2 separate regions of the Homo sapiens genome follow, and region 2 is linked to region 1. Evidence: promoter capture Hi-C in 16 types of primary human blood cells and fetal thymus (Javierre and others, 2016). All regions are on one chromosome and are shown on one strand. Each heading gives the region's core, a stretch centred on a gene start or on the middle of the fragment in contact. The rest is flanking DNA. Distances are from core to core; before and after follow the strand shown.

Region 1 (4,776 bases), core at 1,603-4,102:
TCCTGTTCTTTTATTCTAAAATGGCATCTTGGCTGGACACAGCGGCTTATGCCTGTAATCCTAACACTTTGGGAGGCCAAGGTGGGAGGATTGCTTGAGCCCAGGGTTCAGGACCAGCCTGGACAACATAGGGATACCCTGTCTCTACAAAAAAATAAAATTAAATGAAAAATCAAAAAAGCCAAGTGCGGGCCAGGCATGGTGACTCATGCCTATAATCCCAGCACTTTGGGAGGCTGAGGCGGGCAGATCACTTGAGGTCAGGAGTCCAGACCAGCCTGGCCACAATGGTGAAATCCCATCTCTACTAAAAATACAAAAATTAGCTGGGCATGGTGGCACACACCTGTAATCCCAGCTACTCAGGAGGCTGAGGCATGAGAATCGCTCGAACCCGGGAGGCGGAGGTTGCAGTGAGCCAAGATCATGCCACTGCACCCCAGCCTGAGCGACAGAGCAAGACTCCGTTTCAAAAAAAGCCAGGTGTGGTGGCACATGCCTGTGGTCTCAGCTATTCGGGAGGCCGAGGCTTGGGCCTGGGAGTTTGAGGGTGCAGTGAGCCATGATTGCGCCACTGCAAACCAGCATGGGTGACAGATTGAGACCCTGTTTCAAAGAACCAAACTAAACCAAACCAAAACTAAACTAAAAGTCATCTTGATGTTTGGAGTCAGTTGTCCTGAATTTGAATCTCAGCTCTGCTCCCTGTGAGCTCTCTGACCTAGAGAGTCACACCACCTCCCCCCAAGCCTAGTTTCCTCCCCTATAAAAAGGGGACAATAGCTATATTTTCAGATTGTGAGAATTAAACAAGATCATGTAGGCACTTAAGAAACAGATGTTTTCTCAGAAACACTAGATCATGTGCATAATCAGTGAACTAGAGGAATTTGAATACATATTTGTTGGACTGAATTGAGGTGCCTAAAAGAATGGTTGAGCTGGAAAGCACCTAAGAAATCTTTGGGCCTTAATAACTCCCCAACTGGAGTCCAGGGGAACTGTTCAGGGTATTTCCAAATGATAAGGACAATCGCACACTCTCAATAAAGTCTCAAGTTTCTTTACTTTTGTCTGGAATTGTATCAGCTCAAGGTGATAACACGGCTACCACAAGCTGTTCAGAAATTCTGATTGGCAGTTACATGGCTCTTTGATACGTTTTTTTTTTTTTTTTTTTGAGACGGAGTCTCGCTCTGTCGCCCAGGCTGGACTGCAGTGGCGCAATCTCGGCTCACTGCAAGCTTCGCCTCCCAGGTTCACGCCATTCTCCTGTCTCAGCCTCCCGAGTAGCTGGGACTACATGCGCCTGCCACCAGGCCCGGCTAATTTTCTGTATTTTTAATAGAGATGGGGTTTCACCATGTTAGCCAGGATGGTCTTGAACTCCTGACCTTGTGATCTGCCCGCCTCAGCCTCCCAAAGTGCTGGGATTACAGGCATGAGCCACTGTGCCCAGCCTAAGTTTTTTTTTTAATGAGAAAATAATTACTGGAAGGTAGATTAAATGGTGGAAAACGTTAATCATGTCCAACTCCTCATTTCATAAACAGGGAAGCTGAGGTTTAAAGAAGGAAGTGGCTTGCTGGTCACACTGGGTGGCATAGCTGGCCCTAAAACCCAAATTCTTTTCCTGGAACAACTTACTTCCCGTCTTTCCACTTCAGAGAGGGGGAACCTAGGATCAATGAAGTTGATGGGTTTTCGTCTGCTGGAGTAGGAATAAGTGAGTTATCGATTTGCTCTTGCTTTTTCTGTTCTTAACTCATTCAGCAAATATTTACTGACTGTCCACTATTCGGATTTGGAAGATAGATAAAACAGTCATGGCAGCAGAGAGGGTCAGGATTTACTCCTATGTGCGACTTCAGAACCTGTGCCTTTTTCCACTGGACACCCACATTTTAAAACACCCACTACTCTGCCTTCTAATATAGTTCATCTGTGTCTCAGGGCAGGGGCTGTCTTATATATACATGTTCTAGCCTTCCTGCCACCGAGTAGGTGCGAAATCAATGTTGTAGTGTTGAGGAAACACTTGAATTTTATTTATTTATTTATTTATTTATTTATTTATTTAGAGACGGAGTTTTGCTCTTGTTGCCCAGGCTGGAGTGCAATGGCGTGATCTCGGCTCACTGCAACCTCTGCCTCCCGGGTTCAAGCAATTCTCCTGGCTCAGCCTCCCGAGTAGCTAGGACTACAGGCGTGCGCCACCACGCCCCGCTAATTTTGTATTTTTAGCAGAGACGGGGTTTCTCCATGTTGGTCAGGCTGGTCTCGAAACACCGACCTCAGGTAATCCGCCCACCTCAGCCTCCCAAAGTGCTGGGATTACAGGCGTGAGCCACCGCGCCCGACCAACACTTGAATTTTAATACTTACTTTGCTACTAACTGTGTCGTTGAAACAGTATGTTGCTTTCCTTCTCTGGCCCTTAGCTTAACTATCTGTACAGCGGGAACATTGGCAAACTCCTACGTGGAGGAGCTTGCAGGTCCACTTCAAGTTATCAGACTCTAACTAGGAGAAAACATTGAGAATTTAGGCTGAAAATAACGACACAGTTTATCACCTCGTTAATTCCCAAACATCATTACCGCGTCCTAAGCCACCCCACTTGCCTCTCCCCTAGCCGCCTTCCTTTAAAAAAAGAATTCCCCTCTAGAGGGCGCGCAAGCTCTGCGGCCTTCGTTCCTCTCTTCCGTTTGCCTTCACTCTTCCTTCTGCGCATGTGCTCAGTTCGCTATCCGGCTGCTTGTACCTGGTTCAGGAGGTTCAGGCAGAGGTTGCACCCACTACGCCTGCGCAACCTCAGCCCCGCCCCTCCGCTGCTTTCCCCGGAAACGTTTCTTTCCTACGCAGCCGCTCCTGCCGCCGTGGTCGCTGGAGCTTTGCCTCTCTAGGCCGGCAGCGCCTCTCCTCCATGGTCCTGTCTGTCAGCGCTGTTTTGGGAGCCCGCCGGTGAGGCCGGGCCACGCTCAGACACTTCGATCGTCGAGTCTGTCACTGGTGAGTAGACCCCAGAGGAGCTCGTGTACGGGCGGGGGCCGCGCAGGCGGAATGGGCTGGATTTCCCCTCACTCTGAGAATGGGTCTGTCTGCCCCGCCTTCCCCCTGACTCTTGGAATGGGCTCACCCCTTGGTTCCAGTCCCTCCTCCCGGGCGGGGCGACGTTGCCATGGAGACAGGCCGCTGGCTGAGGCCCGGCTCGTGTCCCTGCAGGGCATGGCGGGTCAGTTCCGCAGCTACGTGTGGGACCCGCTGCTGATCCTGTCGCAGATCGTCCTCATGCAGACCGTGTATTACGGCTCGCTGGGCCTGTGGCTGGCGCTGGTGGACGGGCTAGTGCGAAGCAGCCCCTCGCTGGACCAGATGTTCGACGCCGAGGTAGGGTCCCCGGACTGGGGCGGGTGGGGTCTCGGCCTCCCCGAGTAGGCTTTGTGGTCCATCACTACTGTGCTGTAGACGTGGCTGGGTCACCTTCTTTCTTTGTAGCCCTGGGAAAGGGATTTCACCTTTCTGAGCCTCAGCTGCCTCATCCATAAAATGGAATGACAGCAGAGGCTGATTAGTACAAAGAAAAGGGCCTGGATGTTAATACAATAAACACGTCTGTGTTCCAGGCAACTCTGATACATTTCCTTTCTGATACTCTGGGAAAGTGACTTGATTTCTCTGAGCTAGGTTCTCAGGTGCCACATCGGAGAGAGGGGTGGATAAAAGAGCATTCGTGCGGGTACAGTGGAAACTGCCTGGACTTTGGGGTCAGACAGGCGTCCGTTTAAGATCCACTTACTAGCTGTGTGACCTGGGGCAAATGTCACCTCTGTGAACTTGTTTTCCTGTCTTCAAAACCATGAGACTAGTTGCAGAGAGGTCGTGGACTGCAATATAAAGAGCATGTGCTTTGGGTTCAGAAAAGCAAGGGTTCAGTCTAGGCCTAAACATATAAAACTAGCTGTGGGACCTTGGGCAAGTTGCTTCCCCTTTCTGAGCCTTTTCTGAAAAGTGGGCCGGATGCTCCTACCATGTTGCCCTCAACAAAATGTTACAAGGCCCAGAGGGGTTTAGGAATAAGAAGGTACTTTGTAAAGTGTAAAGGAGGCCTATAAGTTGTTACATCTAAGAGGCAGCTGTGGCGTGGTGATGAGCACAGTTCTTTTTTTTTTTTTTTTTTTTTTTTGAGACGGAGTCTCCCTCTGTCGCCCAGGCTGGAGTGCAGTGGCAGGATCTCGGCTCACTGCAAGCTCCGCCTCCCGGGTTCACGCCATTCTCCTGCCTCAGCCTCCCAAGTAGCTGGGACTACAGGCGCCCGCCACTACGCCCGGCTAATTTTTTGTATTTTTAGTAGAGACGGGGTTTCACCGTTTTAGCCGGGATGGTCTCGATCTCCTGACCTCGTGATCCGCCTGCCTCGGCCTCCCAAAGTGCTGGGATTACAGGCGTGAGCCACCGCGCCCGGCCGAGCACAGTTCTTAAAGCCAGGAGACCTGGGATGGAGTCCTTGCTCCTGCTGCTTGTTCTCTGTGTTAGCCCTTGGGCAAGTTATTATCCAAAAAGTGATAAGAATTAAAAGAAGAAGAATGGCTTTGTGAGGTTTTTTTAGGGATAATATGAGATTATGTATGTCAAAGACCTTTCTTTGTCAGCTGAAAGTGTGGTGCAGATGTTTGGCATTTGATAGTATTGTGTTGGATAGTGGAGGTTGCACACCCACCATATGCCTAGTTGTAGTCTCGTAGGAGACTCTATGCTCCTGGGAAGAGCTGTGGG
Region 2 (4,776 bases), core at 989-3,488, 70 kb after region 1:
ATTTTGTTAGATTGATTAACAAAAATAATTCTACAAAAATGAAGAGTTTATGGATATTGTTTTCCCTGAATTTTTGCATATTTTCTTAATACCTGAAGGACAATTTTATGGGGTAATATTTTAAAAAATAATTTGACTTTTTTTTTCCTCTTTCTAGGCTATTGAGATTTATTTATTTATTTATTTATTTAAGATGGAGTCTCTGTCGCCCAGGCTGGAGTGCAGTGGTGCAATCTTGGCTCACTGCAACCTCTGCCTCCTGGGTTCAAGTGATTCTCTCACCTCAGCCTCCCGAGTAGCTGGGATGACAGGCACGCACCACCATGCCTGGCTAATTTTTGTATTTTTAGTAGAGGCGGGGTTTCACCACGTTAACCAGGCTGGTCTCAAACTCCTGACCTCAAGTGATTTACCCACCTCAGCCAACCAAAGTGCTGACATTATAGGTGTGAGCCACCGCACCTGGCCCAGGCTATTGGTACTTACTATCCCCAACTTTTATTCTATGCTAGTAATTTGATTTGTAGCTCTGACTTGTTTCTTCCTTGAGATTTTCAATTTATTTGCAGTTTTTTTAGTGGTGTTACCTAGATCTTCAATTTATTTCTTTAACACTCATTTTTAAGGGTCTTTTAAATTTTTATTTATTTTAAAATATTTATTTATTTATTTATTTATTTTTAGAAATGAAATCTTGTTATGTTGTCCAGGGTGGTCTTCAACACCTAGCCTCAAGCAATCCTCCCACCTTGGCCTCCCAAAGCACTGGGATTACAGGTGTGAACACTGAACCACTGAACCCAGCCTAATGTCTTATTTTATTAAAGTTTTTGTTTTTTAAGCTGAAAGCCCTCCTATAAATTTTTCCTTTTATCAGATTTTCTGCTGAATTCAGTTATCTGTGTCTGTTTCTTTTCTCCAGCGTCCTTTCCTTTTTAATTTTCTTCTTTTTTTCCTTTCTTCCCTCCCTCCCTGCTTTATTTTCTTTCTTCCTTATAACTGTATGTAGTATGGTGCATAGCTACTCTGTCATTTCCCTTCATCTTCGTCAGGCTCAGTTTGGGCAACTCTGCCCTGTCCTTTCGCTTATTCTAATTGGTGTCAGTATATTCTCTTTGGTTTCCTTCTCACCATATCTGAGATCTATTGTTATTTCCATCCCTACCCCCCAAATTGCAGTCTGAAGTTTGCCTCTATACACTTCTGTGGAGCCTAAAGTCATGGGGTTGAGGGAAGAAAGGAATGCTATTGGAGATGTCTCTTGACTATGATGGGCAGCCTGGGCTCTGCTCTCTGGAGATTTTCTTAAATTCCTGGAACCACAGTTGGCTTCCTCTAGTGACGTGTTATTCCATTTTTGAGAAAGTTTCCCTGGAGCTTTGGATCAGCCAACCAATTAGAAATTTGAGCCTTGGGGAATGGCAAACCTTGGTGGGCTTTTTATCTCTGTGGAGACCCCAAGAGCTTGGGTGGGACTTGAATTTTCTGGGGATGCATCTTGACTTTTTGCATGCAGTTCTCTAACACTCCTCCCCAAAACTCATATTAAAATTTAATCCCTAATGTGGCAGTACTGAGAGGTGGGGTCTTTAAGAGGTGATTGGGTCATGAATGGATTAATCCATTCACAGATAAATGGATTAATGGATTATCATAGGAGTGGGACTGGTGACTTTATAAGAGGAAAACACATAGTTTAGCATGCTCAGCCCCCTCACCATGTGATGTCCTGAACTGCCTCAGGACTCTGCAGAGGGTCCCCACAACAAGAAGGCTTTCACCAGGTGCATCCCCTTGACCTTGGGCTTCCCAGCCTACAGAACTGTAAGAAATAAATTTGGTTTTTAATAAATTACCCAGTTTCAGGTATTCTGTTAAGACACAGGACAAGAAGGCTACTCAGTTGCAAGCAAGAGCCATTTCTTATGGAAAAGGAAGTGTGAGTCAGAGTGGAGCCAAGAACCTCTGGCAACAGGTGCACAATTCAATTTCAGAATTGCCGGGGCTCAGTGATTGCTCTGAACTTCCCCTTTTAAAACGGTAGTGAACATAGTGGTTTCCTGTGCCAATCTCGCCATTGCAGGTTGGGTGCATGTGAGGCAGAAAACATGTCTCTTTAGTTCACAGGTTTTCAGATGGAGAGAAACTCTACCCACGGAACAGAACCCAAGACGCCTCTTTGCAGCTGGACTTGATGTAGATAAGCTCCAGAAATTGGAGCTGAGTTTGATGTCAAAATAGGATGAGGTGTTTGTTTGTTTGTTTGTTTGTTTGTTTGGTTTTAAGACAAACTCACTCTGTCACCCAGGCTGGAGTGTAGTGGTGTGATCACGGCTCACTGCAGTTTTGACTTTCCAGGCTCAAGCAATCCTCCCACCTCAGCCTTTTGAGTAGCTGGGACTACTACAGGTTTGTGGCACCGTGATTGGCTAATTTTTTATTTTTTATAGAGATAGGGTCTTGCTATGTTGCCCAGGCTGGTCTCGAACTCCTGGATACAAGTGTTCCTCCCACCTCAGTCTCCCAAAGTGCTGGGATTACAGTCATGAACCACTGCATCTGGCCAAGATTTTTTTTTTTTTTTTTTTTTTTTTTTTTTTTAGTGGGAAGTAGGGCAGTGGGGGTAGGTGGGGACGGGTCTTGGAGGAAGTTATATTTTACATATAGGAAAATTTTAACTAATCTGTCTCAGTTTAAAAACATGTCTGCAATTTTTCTGGCACTTGTCCCATTGAGAATTGGGGTCAATCCCCTTTTTGAATCTGGGCTGACCTTGCCGACTCCATCATGATCAGTAGAATGCAGTGGAAGAGATACTGTGTGATTTCTGAGGCTAGGTCAAAAAAGGCTGTCCTTCCATCTTGCACTCTTGGGATGCTGGCTCTGGGTGATGCTGATGTCCATGTGAAAAGTCTGACTACCCAGAGGCCACTGCTGAAAAGAACACATGCAGTGGACACCGGCCAACAGTTCCAGCTGAGTTTAGCCTTTTAGTTTAGCCTTTCTGCCAAGGCCCTAGACATGTGATTGAAGCCATCCTGGGTCCTCCAGCCCAGCCCAGCCCAGCTGGGTACCACAGAATGACCTCAGACATGGCCACAAGGAGCAAAAGAATTCCCCAACTAAGCCCCGCCTGAATTCCAGACCTACAGAATCCACGTGCATCAGAAAAGAGTTGTTGTTTTGTGCCACTAAGTATGGATCCTGGTAGGCAACTCACTGGAACAACTGGTGAGAATTTTCAGGACTTTTGTATTATTTCCTCTTTCTCCTGCACCTCTTCTGGAACAGAGCAGTTGGGGATAGGACCATGACGAAACACATCAAGATATTCTATATTTTTCTGTTGCTACTGCTTTTTGAAGTTTATGGAATGAGGTTCTACTGTTTCCCATGGTGGTTTACTGCTGCTGATTTTTTTTTTTTTACCTGTTTTTTTTTTTTCTCCTATCCAATTCAATAGAAACCAGAGAATGAACATTCTATTGTGAAACTATCCTGCCATCTGCACTTTACTCAGTGATATGGTTTGGATTTGTGTTGCCACCCAAATCTCATGTCAAATTGTAATCCCCAATATTGGAGGTGGGGCCTGGTGGGAGCTGGTTGGATCATGGGGGTGGATTTCCCCCTTTCTGTTCTCCTGATAGTGAGATCTCATGATACTTGGTTGTTTAAAAGTGTGTGGCACCTCCCCCCTCTCTCTTTCGCCCACTCCTGCCATGTAAGACATGTCTGCTTCCCCTTTGCCTTCCACCATGATTGAAAGTTTCTTGAGGCCTCCCCAGCTATGCTACCTGTACAGCTGGCAGAACCGTGAGCCAATTAAACCTCTTCTTTATAAATTACCCAGTCTCGGGTAGTTGTTTTTTTTTTGAGACGGAGTTTTGCTGTTGTTGCCCAGGCTGGAGTGCAATGGCGCGATCTCAGCTCACCGCAACCTCCGCCTCCCGGGTTCAAGCGATTCTCCTGCCTCACCCTCCCAAGTAGCTGGGATTACAGGCATGCACCACCACCCTGGCTAGTTTTGTATTTTTTTTTTTAGTAGAGACAGGGTTTCTCCATGTTGGTCAGGCTGATCTTGAACTCCCGACCTCAGGTGATCCGCCCGCCCCGGTCTCCCAAAGTGCTGGGATTACAGGCATGAGCCACTGCACCCGGCCATTTTTTGTTTGTTTGTTTTGTTTTTTTGTGTTTTTTTTTGAGACACAGTTTCACTCTTGTTGCTCAGGCTGAAGTGTAATGGCGCGATCTCAGCTCACTGCAACCTCTAACTCCCGGGCTCAAGTGATTCTCTTGCTTCAGCCTCCAGAGTAGCTGGGATTACAGGCATGTGCCACCACACCCAGCTAATTTTGTATTTTTAGTAGATGTGGGGTTTTTCCATGTTGGTCAGGCTGGTCTCGAACACCCGACCTCAGGTGATCTGCCCTCCTCGGCCTCCCAAAGCGCTGAGATTACAGGCGTGAGCCACCACTCCTGGTGTCAGGTAGTTCTTTATAGCAGTGGGAGAATGGACTAATACACCCAGAAGTCTATGTTTTAAATGAAAACTTAATTTTAAATAGTACAAAAATATTTGTAAGGTTTTTTATTTTCTTAATCATAAAAAGAACATAAGAGATTAAATAGGTGATATTAAAGAAAGAAAAAGAACGCCCATGTTCTTACAACACTAATACAATACCTGTGAACATTTTGTTTCTCTTTCCCCTACATAGCATTATTTTTTGTCTGTTGATTGAATTCCCTCCCCTCCCAAAGTTTTTTTTTTTT

What was found. The method cuts DNA at HindIII sites, captures the fragments that hold promoters and counts their contacts. A CHiCAGO score of 5 or more calls a contact.
Region 2: a contact is called between a fragment that was not itself captured here and the fragment with the promoter of SYS1 in region 1, in 10 of 17 cell types (total CD8 T cells, activated CD4 T cells, naive CD4 T cells and 7 more). The highest score is 8.2, in total CD8 T cells.

Annotation. Positions count from the first base shown.
Region 1 is chr20:45,360,304-45,365,079 of GRCh38, forward strand. SYS1 (SYS1 golgi trafficking protein) reads left to right here and starts at 2,853. Exons shown (of 4, transcript NM_033542.4): 1 at 2,853-3,012; 2 at 3,226-3,390. The coding sequence starts at 3,229. It overlaps SYS1-DBNDD2 (SYS1-DBNDD2 readthrough (NMD candidate)), which reads left to right and starts at 2,866. Exons shown (of 6, transcript NR_003189.2): 1 at 2,866-3,012; 2 at 3,226-3,390. It overlaps LOC124904914 (a long non-coding RNA gene), which reads right to left and starts at 3,065. Exons shown (of 2, transcript XR_007067609.1): 1 at 2,765-3,065; 2 at 2,053-2,523. RefSeq lists an enhancer at 2,583-3,022. The HindIII fragment of the contact is 10,354 bases long and covers 1,243-4,776 here.
Region 2 is chr20:45,430,488-45,435,263 of GRCh38, forward strand. The region is part of intron 2 of LOC105372631 (a long non-coding RNA gene); the gene reads left to right. Among named protein-coding and RNA genes, the nearest start is that of MIR6812, 7.4 kb to the left of the region's middle. The HindIII fragment of the contact is 8,302 bases long and covers 1-4,776 here.